Linked DNA regions of Homo sapiens: regions 1 and 3 are each linked to region 2. The links are contacts of gene promoters, found by promoter capture Hi-C in human tissues and cell types (Jung and others, 2019). All regions are on one chromosome and are shown on one strand. Each heading gives the region's core, a stretch centred on a gene start or on the middle of the fragment in contact. The rest is flanking DNA. Distances are from core to core; before and after follow the strand shown.

What was found. The method cuts DNA at HindIII sites, captures the fragments that hold promoters and counts their contacts. A contact is called where the count stands out against the background at its distance.
Region 1: a contact is called between a fragment that was not itself captured here and the fragment with the promoter of SLC25A15 in region 2, in 1 of the 25 tissues and cell types used here (spleen).
Region 3: a contact is called between a fragment that was not itself captured here and the fragment with the promoter of SLC25A15 in region 2, in 1 of the 25 tissues and cell types used here (dorsolateral prefrontal cortex).

What each region holds. Positions count from the first base shown.
Region 1 is chr13:39,724,895-39,727,889 of GRCh38, forward strand. It overlaps COG6 (component of oligomeric golgi complex 6), which reads left to right. Exons shown (of 19, transcript NM_020751.3): 18 at 2,575-2,654. Among named protein-coding and RNA genes, the nearest start is that of MIR4305, 62 kb to the left of the region's middle. The HindIII fragment of the contact is 4,349 bases long and covers 1-2,995 here.
Region 2 is chr13:40,788,321-40,791,293 of GRCh38, forward strand. SLC25A15 (solute carrier family 25 member 15) reads left to right here and starts at 1,291. Exons shown (of 7, transcript NM_014252.4): 1 at 1,291-1,343. RefSeq lists silencers at 861-1,440, 2,573-2,867. The HindIII fragment of the contact is 20,114 bases long and covers 1-2,973 here.
Region 3 is chr13:39,753,428-39,756,127 of GRCh38, forward strand. It overlaps a transcript of COG6 not described here. Among named protein-coding and RNA genes, the nearest start is that of MIR4305, 91 kb to the left of the region's middle. The HindIII fragment of the contact is 5,651 bases long and covers 1-2,700 here.

The DNA.
Region 1 (2,995 bases), core at 272-2,771, 1.1 Mb before region 2:
TTATTACTACCTTGATCCTTCGTTTAAAGTTCCTGACGTGAAAATCGAAATTAGATTCCACTCTTAAAACAGTTTATTACTCTTTAGTTTGAGACTCACTGAATTTCCACTTTATTACCTTCCTTCTTTTCAGGTGAAGATCTTGTACCTTCCTTTTTGCATGATCACTACTTTTTGTAGTGTGTTTCTGTGTCTTAAATACATATACTTTCCTCATATGTATAGTGTTCATATGCATAGCCATTCATTGTATGATATTTAAGTCATATAGCTCTATCCCTCATAGGAATGATCCCTTTTGGAAGTTTTATGATAGTACTACTAGTAATAGTAATAATAATATGGAAGAACAACAGCCATTAACATTAGCATAGCAAGTGTTTTCCCTGTATTAACTCTTTAATCCTCATGACAACCCCATTCAATCCAGGAAGTTGGCCTACAGAGCTTGTGGGTTTAACTACTGTACTAAACTAGTGATCCTAAGTATTTAAAATACTCACGTATACTCACTACCACAATGGCCTGACTTTCATAGATAGTCCTGTAGGAAGGTTTTTAAATTTTCCAACAATTTTTGATGCCAAGGCTTTCCTATATATTATCTTCCAGAACTCAGTTTAACTGAAAACAAAAGGATAGGCTCATAAGATACCTAACAAATGCAAAGAAGAAGGTGGAGCTATCTATATGATTATTAGATAAAGTAGAATTTAAAAAGACTAAATGAGACAAATAAGAAACATTATGTCGTGATAAAAGACACTATATAGAAGCAACAGTTATAACTTCTATATATGAAACAAAAACATAGTAGCAAAAATTAGAAATGCAAAGAAAATTCGATATTAAAAAGTTTAAATAAAAATAGATGAAAATGAATTTTAGATTCATTAAAAGATATGTTTTTAGAAAGTTATATATACACTTACCATACTATCCAGTACAATTCCACTTCAAGATATTTACCCCCCAAAAATGAAGATCTATGCTCACACTTAGATCTGTAACATTAGTTAGTACCAAATATATGTTCCCTTCCTCTGTTTCTCCTTCTCTCTTGACACATATCCAGTCTGTAATACAACTCATAAAATATTTGAAATGCCATTAAAAATTCTTCATGTTCCTGGTGTTAATTTTCAGAACAATTAAGGTGAATATGAATATACGATGTCTCTGGAGAAACAAATCTTGCTTGAGTTTTGTATTTAATACGTGATTATATACAACCATTTGTTGTCTCCATTTAGGGGTTTCTAAGGCACTTCAATTCAGCATGTCCAAAACTAACTCTGCACATTCCACCCTAAACCTAAGTCCTCTTCCAGGCATTATTAACTCAGAAAATTGTAAGACCTTCTATCCATTTATCATTTAAATAGTTATTAACCGAGTTTCTGCTATTTTCTAGGCATCATGCTAAGAATTGGGATGAAAACAGATATGATCTAGTAAGGGATGCAGCTACTACACAAATAAATGAATGAAGAGTACAGTTATGTGTTATGATAATATGGTGAATTAATTCATACATATCCAAAATCTGGGAGTCCATCCCTTCATTCTATCAGTAACCAAGTCCTGATGGTCCTCAAATATCTTTACGTCTTTCACCTTGATTGCCCCTATAGTCTAAAAATGCTGCAGTAGGTACCTAAGGTACCTAATTGGTGTCTTTGTATCTATTATTGCAATCTTCCATTCTGTCTTCCTATGGCCAGATTTAGCTTCTTAAAACTTAAATCAGATTTCTCCCTTACTTAAATTCAATGGTTTACTAATGCTTTTGAAATAATTAAAATCCTTAAATAAGCATGCCAGTCCTACATGATCTCTACTTATATGTTTTCCTTCCCACCTCAAGTCTTCATGCTGTCTCCTCTCCCTGAACCTCCCCACCCATCAATCCACTTACTTAATGTATATTCATCTTTAAGATTTCACTTCAAATGTCCTTTCCTGAGAGATGCTTTTGCCGAATCCACAGACTAGGTCCTTGATTTATGCTTTATAGTACCTTGTTTTATTCCTTAATAGCATTTAACAAAATTTGTAATTATATATTTATTTATATTATTATCTGTTTAACACCTCTCTTGCTAGGCCATAAGCTCTGTGAAGCTAGGGACTATCCTTTTTTTGCTCATTTTTATACTTCCATTACTTAATATAGTACCTTTTCAATGGTAGGTATTAGTTGAACTAATGAATGCATTAATGAACAAATGAACAAATATAGTAAAATCAAGAAACAGGTAGACCTGAAACCTGATGACTTTACTTCTTGTTAATATTATTACTTAAAAGCTTTGTGAGGAAGACTAAAATGAATGGTTTGGATTCAGGATTTTGAAAGTAAGTATTGCTAATATTGACTATATTACAGATTTGACAGTTTTAGGGAGTTTTAGTTAGAATGTTTAGAAAATACACAATTTGAACACAACAATCTAGTTATTTAGAGTATGGAATTTTTCTCAAGGATTTAATTCTTAAAAGAGATGTTTATATTTGAGTTGTTTGTTAGCACATATATGTACTTTATATTTTGTATTTCTCTGTTTCATTTAGGTTCAGTTTGATCGTTATCTGTCAGCCCCAGACAACCTATTGATACCACAGCTGAACTTTCTTCTAAGTGCCACAGTGAAGTAAGTATTTTTGGTCCCAAGTAGTTGGTAAAGATTCACATATTTTTAAATATCAAGTACATTTTTTTGGAAAAAAATTTATTTTCAAGAATAAATGATTTACCATTGAAAATCTATAGTTCTCAACCTTTCTTCTGCCTTGGCATGCCAAAGGATGAGATCTGAACATGTCTGTACTTATTCCATGTCTATATGTCACTCCAAAATCTCTAATTAGTACATGATTGTTAAAATTACTTTGAATATAATTGAAGCTATATAGCTGTAATACCAAATTCCCTTACGTTAACAAACATGTCAGAATAATGTTGAATATGTTATGGAAAATCAATAATATATTC
Region 2 (2,973 bases), core at 41-2,540:
TGTGGTGGCGCATGCCTGTAATCCCAGCTACTTGGGAAGCTAAGGCAGGAGAATCGCTTGAACCCAGGAGGGGGAGGTTGCAGTGAGCTGAGATTGCACCATTGCACTCCAGCTCGGGTGACAGAGTGAGACTCTGTCTCAAAAAAAAAAAGAAAAAAAAAGAAAAAAATAATAATCCAACAGCACATCTAAACAAGGCTTAAAGTTGTAAAATAAAATTACACTGTGTGGAGGGTGTGTGTGTGTGTGTGTGTGTGTGTGTGTGGGTGAGAGAGAGAGAGAGAGAGAGATGAGGTCTCTGTCATCCAGGCTGGAGTGCAACAGTGCCATCATAGCTCACTGCGGCCTCCAATTCCTGGCCTCAAGCGATCCTCCCGCCTTGGCCTCCCAAATAGCTAAGAATAGAGGCATGTGTCACCACACCTTTTTTTTTTTGTCGTTGTTTGTTTGTTTTTATGAAACGGAGTCTCGCTGTGTAGCCCAGGCTGGAGTGTAGTGATGCAATCTTGGCTCACTGCAACCTTCACCTCCCAGATTCAAGCGATTCTCCTGCCTCAGCCTCCCTAGTAGCTGGGGTTACAGACACGCACCACCACGCTGGATAAATTTTTGTAATTTTAGTACACGGGGTTTCACCATGTTGGCCAGGCTGGTCTTGGACTCCTGACCTCAGGTGATCCGCCTACCTCGGCCTCCCACAGTGCTGGGATTACAGGCGTGAGCCACCATGCCCGGCTAATTCCTGTATTTTCATACTTAGTTGTATTTCCTATTAGGGCCTTGGATCCCGAGTATAATTTTGTACTCAAATATAATTTATAAATAAGGCCTTAGCCTCCCAACAAGGTCAAAGTAGCTAAAAAGTAAGTCCTCCCAACCACTGACATTACCAGCCCCCAGCCCCCAGTCCCAGCCCAGCGGGCTAACAAGGGTCCGGCCTCAGAGAGGGTCTCGGGGATCCCAGAGGTGGGAAAGTCTCCGGAGGCGCAGGCCCCGCTCTCCACCTTCACCAGGGTCGGCGGCAGCACCACGCCGGGTCGCGGGCTGGCTGTGCGCGCCGCGGCCCCACGCCCACTTCCGCTTCCCGTGCTGGGGGCGGTGGCAGGGCCGGTGGGCGGTGGCGGCTCCCGGTCTCGGCTCGGGCACGGCCCTGGGCAGGCCGCCCGCCAGCCGCAGGGGCGCTCCTGAGCTTCGCGGGGCCGCAGTCCGGGATGCCTGCGCGAAGGGAGGGGCGAAGGGCCGGCCGTTGCCGACGTGGGTGTTAAGTGGCCGCCCCAGCCGGCGACCCGGAGCCGAGAGCGGGCGGCGGAGCCTGAGCTGGACGCGGCCACGCCGGCGCGGCGGTGAGCGCAGCCCGGTCTGGCGCCTGCAGCTGCGGGGAGCGCGCCAGGCAGAGGGAGCGGGGAGCGGGGCGCGGGGCGGGCCTCGGTGTGCGGGCGGCGTGACCTTCCCGAGCGGCGGGGGAAGCGGCCAGCGTCGCAGCGCACGTGCCGCGGGACTCGGAGAATCTCGGGGTTGTCGGCCTCCTTCCTGCAGTGCCCACCTGGTGGGAACTTTTGTCCTTGTTTGCCCCCAAGTCCTGTCATTTGGCTGCGGGGCTCCGCGCCTCAGGGGCGCCAGTGCTGGGCAGCATGGAGCCGCTTGTGAATGGAGACTTGCTGGCTGCCCAGGAGTGGGCGGCTGGGCAGGGGCGGTGAACGTTTAGGGTCCGGCCAAGAAAGTTGGAAGTCGTCTCCCTGACCTGTTCCTTGCGAGGCCCGGGAGGAGACGCGCCTGGCCGGTCCTTGGCGGCGAAACTGATTTGCATCTCCACGCTTTACCTAAAGCCCGGGCTCTGGGGACTGGATGGCGAGCTGGCCTGCGGCTCCTTTAGCCAGAAGCTGGGATCTTCCCGCAGCAGTTCGTGTTCCCTGGTGGAAAATGCAGCCTCATCTACTGACTCTCCCTTCCAAAAAAAAGTTATTTTCCCCAAGGGTCGAGAAAAGTGGGTGGTCGGCACTGTTGTTCCTCAGTTGCACCCTGGTGTAATTTGAGAGAGGGGTCAAAGGCGCTGAAAAGATTCTTTTTTCTATTCCAAGTGCTACAGCAAGCTCATAAATCAATTTTAATTCATGCTGAACAGTCTTGCCTCCTCCAAGCCCTGTGTCTTCTCCAAGCCAGAGCTACACATAATGTGAATTAGCTGCCCACTCCTTCTGAGTGAATCTGTTAGTACCCATCATCGTTTTCTATCCTAATAATTCTAATGGCTATTTGTAGAATTTATTTGTTTGTTTATTTTTTTGAGACGGAGTTTCGCTCTTGTTGCCCAGGCTGGAGTGCAATGGGGCGATCTCGGCTCACCGCAACCTCCGCCTCCTGGGTTCAAGCTATTCTCCTCCCTCAGCCTCCCGAGTAGCTGGGATTACAAGCATGGCCCACCACGCCAGGCTAATTTTGTATTTTTAATAGAGACGGGGGTTTCTCATGTTGGTCAGGCTGGTCTCGAACTCCCGACCTCAGGTGATCCGCCCGCCTTGGCCTCCCAAAGTGCTGGGATTACAGGCGTGAGCCACTGTGCCTGGCCTATTTGTAGAATTTAATGTGTTTAAGTTTGGCTCACCTAACAGGGTTTAATTCTTAGGGACAGATAGAATGTAATGTGATGTGACTTTCCTTCAAAATTAAGAAGGAAGTGTCTGTGCCAAAAGAAATAAGCGCATTGAGGTTTATCTAGGAGGCCACATTGTACTTGCCTCTGTCTGTCTGCTCAGTTGCCCCCGTTTTTTTCTTTCCCAAAAATATAGGGTTGGGTGTTTTGTGTTGCCTTTGGCCAGGTTGAAATACTCAGATTAACGGTTGGTTTGTAGGCACAGGCCTGAAAAGACAGGACTTTGAACTGAATCCTCTGTCACTGACAGTTGTGTGGCCTTGGAGAAGACCTTGTCTTGCTCCAGGCTTTAGTTTGCCTTCTGGGAAAGGATTAGGACCCTG
Region 3 (2,700 bases), core at 184-2,683, 1.0 Mb before region 2:
GTCTAAATGAACTAAGACAGACATTCAATATTGCTTTGTAATTCTACTCTTAACTTGCCATGTTTCCAGAGGACTTTTACACCCACATTCTCAGTTAATATCCTTCATAATTCACCAAGAATAGAAACTATTAGATTAATCTTCCTCATTTTCCTATTCTCAAACATCACACCCATCTCCTCTCCTTCCTTGTTTTGTACTTGAGATGTTATCTCTCTTTCTATGACAGGATATTCCCTCCATTATGCTCTGGCTCGCATCTCTCATCTTCTTATTAGATCCTTCTGTCTCTGGGTTATCCCTTCATTTTGCTTCAGCAACAACTGGCCTCTCTGTAGGATTATTCTCAATGTCATAAATAATGTTGTAATGTTCATAGTATTTTTAAAAACTCTCTACTCAGATCCTAACACTTCCATTTCTCTGCTTCCTTTCCTGGTTTAGACATGCTGTCGTCTACTTCCTTATTTCTCATTCTGTCTTTAAAGTATCCCAATATAGTTTCAGTCTCTCACTACTACACCGAAACTAACCTGATAAGCTTTTCATCAGTGCTATATGTTGTCAGATCTAGCAGATTCTTCTGTATCTCTATTTGTTGAACTCTCAGTGTCATTCTACACATTTCTGTTTGAAATTCTATCCTTTCCAGTCTTCCATGGCACCACTTTCTCCTAATTTTCCTCCCATTTCATTAACCCAACCCCCTTTTGACCTTCTTCCCTGGCTCTTTTGCCTCTATATGATTTCTAAAAGTTGGCATACTCTAGGGCTTGATCCTGGATACTTTTTTGTTTTAATCCTTCCTTTAGGGATTTGTTACTTCAACCTTTTCTATCCAGAATAATGTTAGCTTAAATGTCTTTAGATATATCCATATGATGGAGTACAGCAGTGAGAAAATGAATGGTTTTCAAGTACATAATGTTGAGAAAGAAATCAGAATAATATAATACTAATTTTATAGAATGTGGATACATGTAAAGGTGTAAGGAAAATATAGGAAATGATTAATACAATTTAAGATTATGGAGAGGGAAACACAGGATGTGTTGAAGTTACTGATAATGTTTTATTCTTATGCTAGGTTGTTAGTACTCTTAAATATTCTTTAAAATTTTTCATATATGTTACATAAACTTCTGTTCATATATTTTACAATTTTAAAAAATAGTTTAGAAATTTGCTTGGCATAGGGCCTGGGCTAAAGTTAGAACTCAATATATGAGAGCTATTTTTTTTCATTAGTCTTATCATTAAACACATTTCTTAAGTACCTACTAGGTAGTAGGCTTTGTGATAAGCATTTAAAAATATAACCAAATTATGTGTTTCCCGTTGAGGAATTCCCTGTCTTGCACAATGATAGTTACATGTATTGTAAATAAACATCATGAAATTTGGTAGAGTGCTTGTGCATGTTGGCAAGAAGAAAAAATGAACTAATATCATCCTTTATAATTCAGCCGGATGTCCTTGGTATAAGAGGTTGAGAGCACAGAAAACAAAGTTTCAAACCACAACTGTACATTGTTCAGTCTGAGATTATCATAATGATTGGGTTCTATTAACTATTTGGTTAAGATGTAAAATTATGTAATAGTGTGGTGAGAGGAAAAATGGTGGATTAAGGAACTTAAAAATTTTGTCCCTTCATAAAGGTAGCAATAAAACTGGCCTTCAAAAAATGATCAAAGTCAACTTTTTCAGGACTCGAGAAACTAATCAAAAGATCACAGTAACCTGAGTTACTTAAAAAAAGAGAAAAAAAAGCCAAATGTTAGTAATAACAGCAAGCATTTTGGTGTTTAACTTATGCCGTTTCCATACCTTGCTCCCTAGTTCAGCAGTAGTGTTGAAAAGAACACGCCACATTCATGGTATGGGAAAGAGCAGAATGGACCTTATTTGCAGATTATCCTTATTTGATCTGTCTGATAGCTCCCAGGAAAACCCATTTAAAAAACCGGCCTTTATCTTGCCTGTTATGGAACTCACCCTCTACTGGGGTGGGGGTGGGGAATTTATTTAAAACATTTACCTGTCATTGCTACATGAAGCAATGGGTAAAAGTTGGAGCAAACAATAAACTAACCAGAAAGCTTTGGAAGAAAGGTTGGGAATGAGATGTTCATAAGGACTTTGAAAAGCTCTTACGTATTTCTGGGAATCTAGAAGGCTCTGTGCATGTTTAGGACTGTGTGCATGTTCATGAATGAACAGAGAGACCGTAATCTCTCACCTCTGCCTGACCTTGAGGATCTGAGCAAGCAGGGAATGAAGGCAGAAGCAAAGTTAGAAGCTGCCTAGCTGAGTGTCCAAGACATGTCCCAACAGACACACAGAGTCCTTCAGCAAAGACTGAGCAATTTTTTGGTTTAGGCATTCAAGGAACTCTTCATCTAATCATTAGTTGACAATTAAGCTAATGAATCGGACACATAAGTGGTTACACATGACAAAGAATGTAGATTTTACAGAATGAGTTCATGAAAGTCACTAAAATATAATCACAGCTATAAAAGGCAGCAACAACAAACGGGGTGGGGCAAGAGAATCTAATCTGATTTCCAACAGATAGCCCAGATATTGAACTTATTAGACAAAGATTTTAACTATTTTAAATATGTTCAAGGATTTAAGGAAACCAAGTCTGAAGAACTAAAGTATGAGAAGAGTGTCTCACCAAATACAGAATAT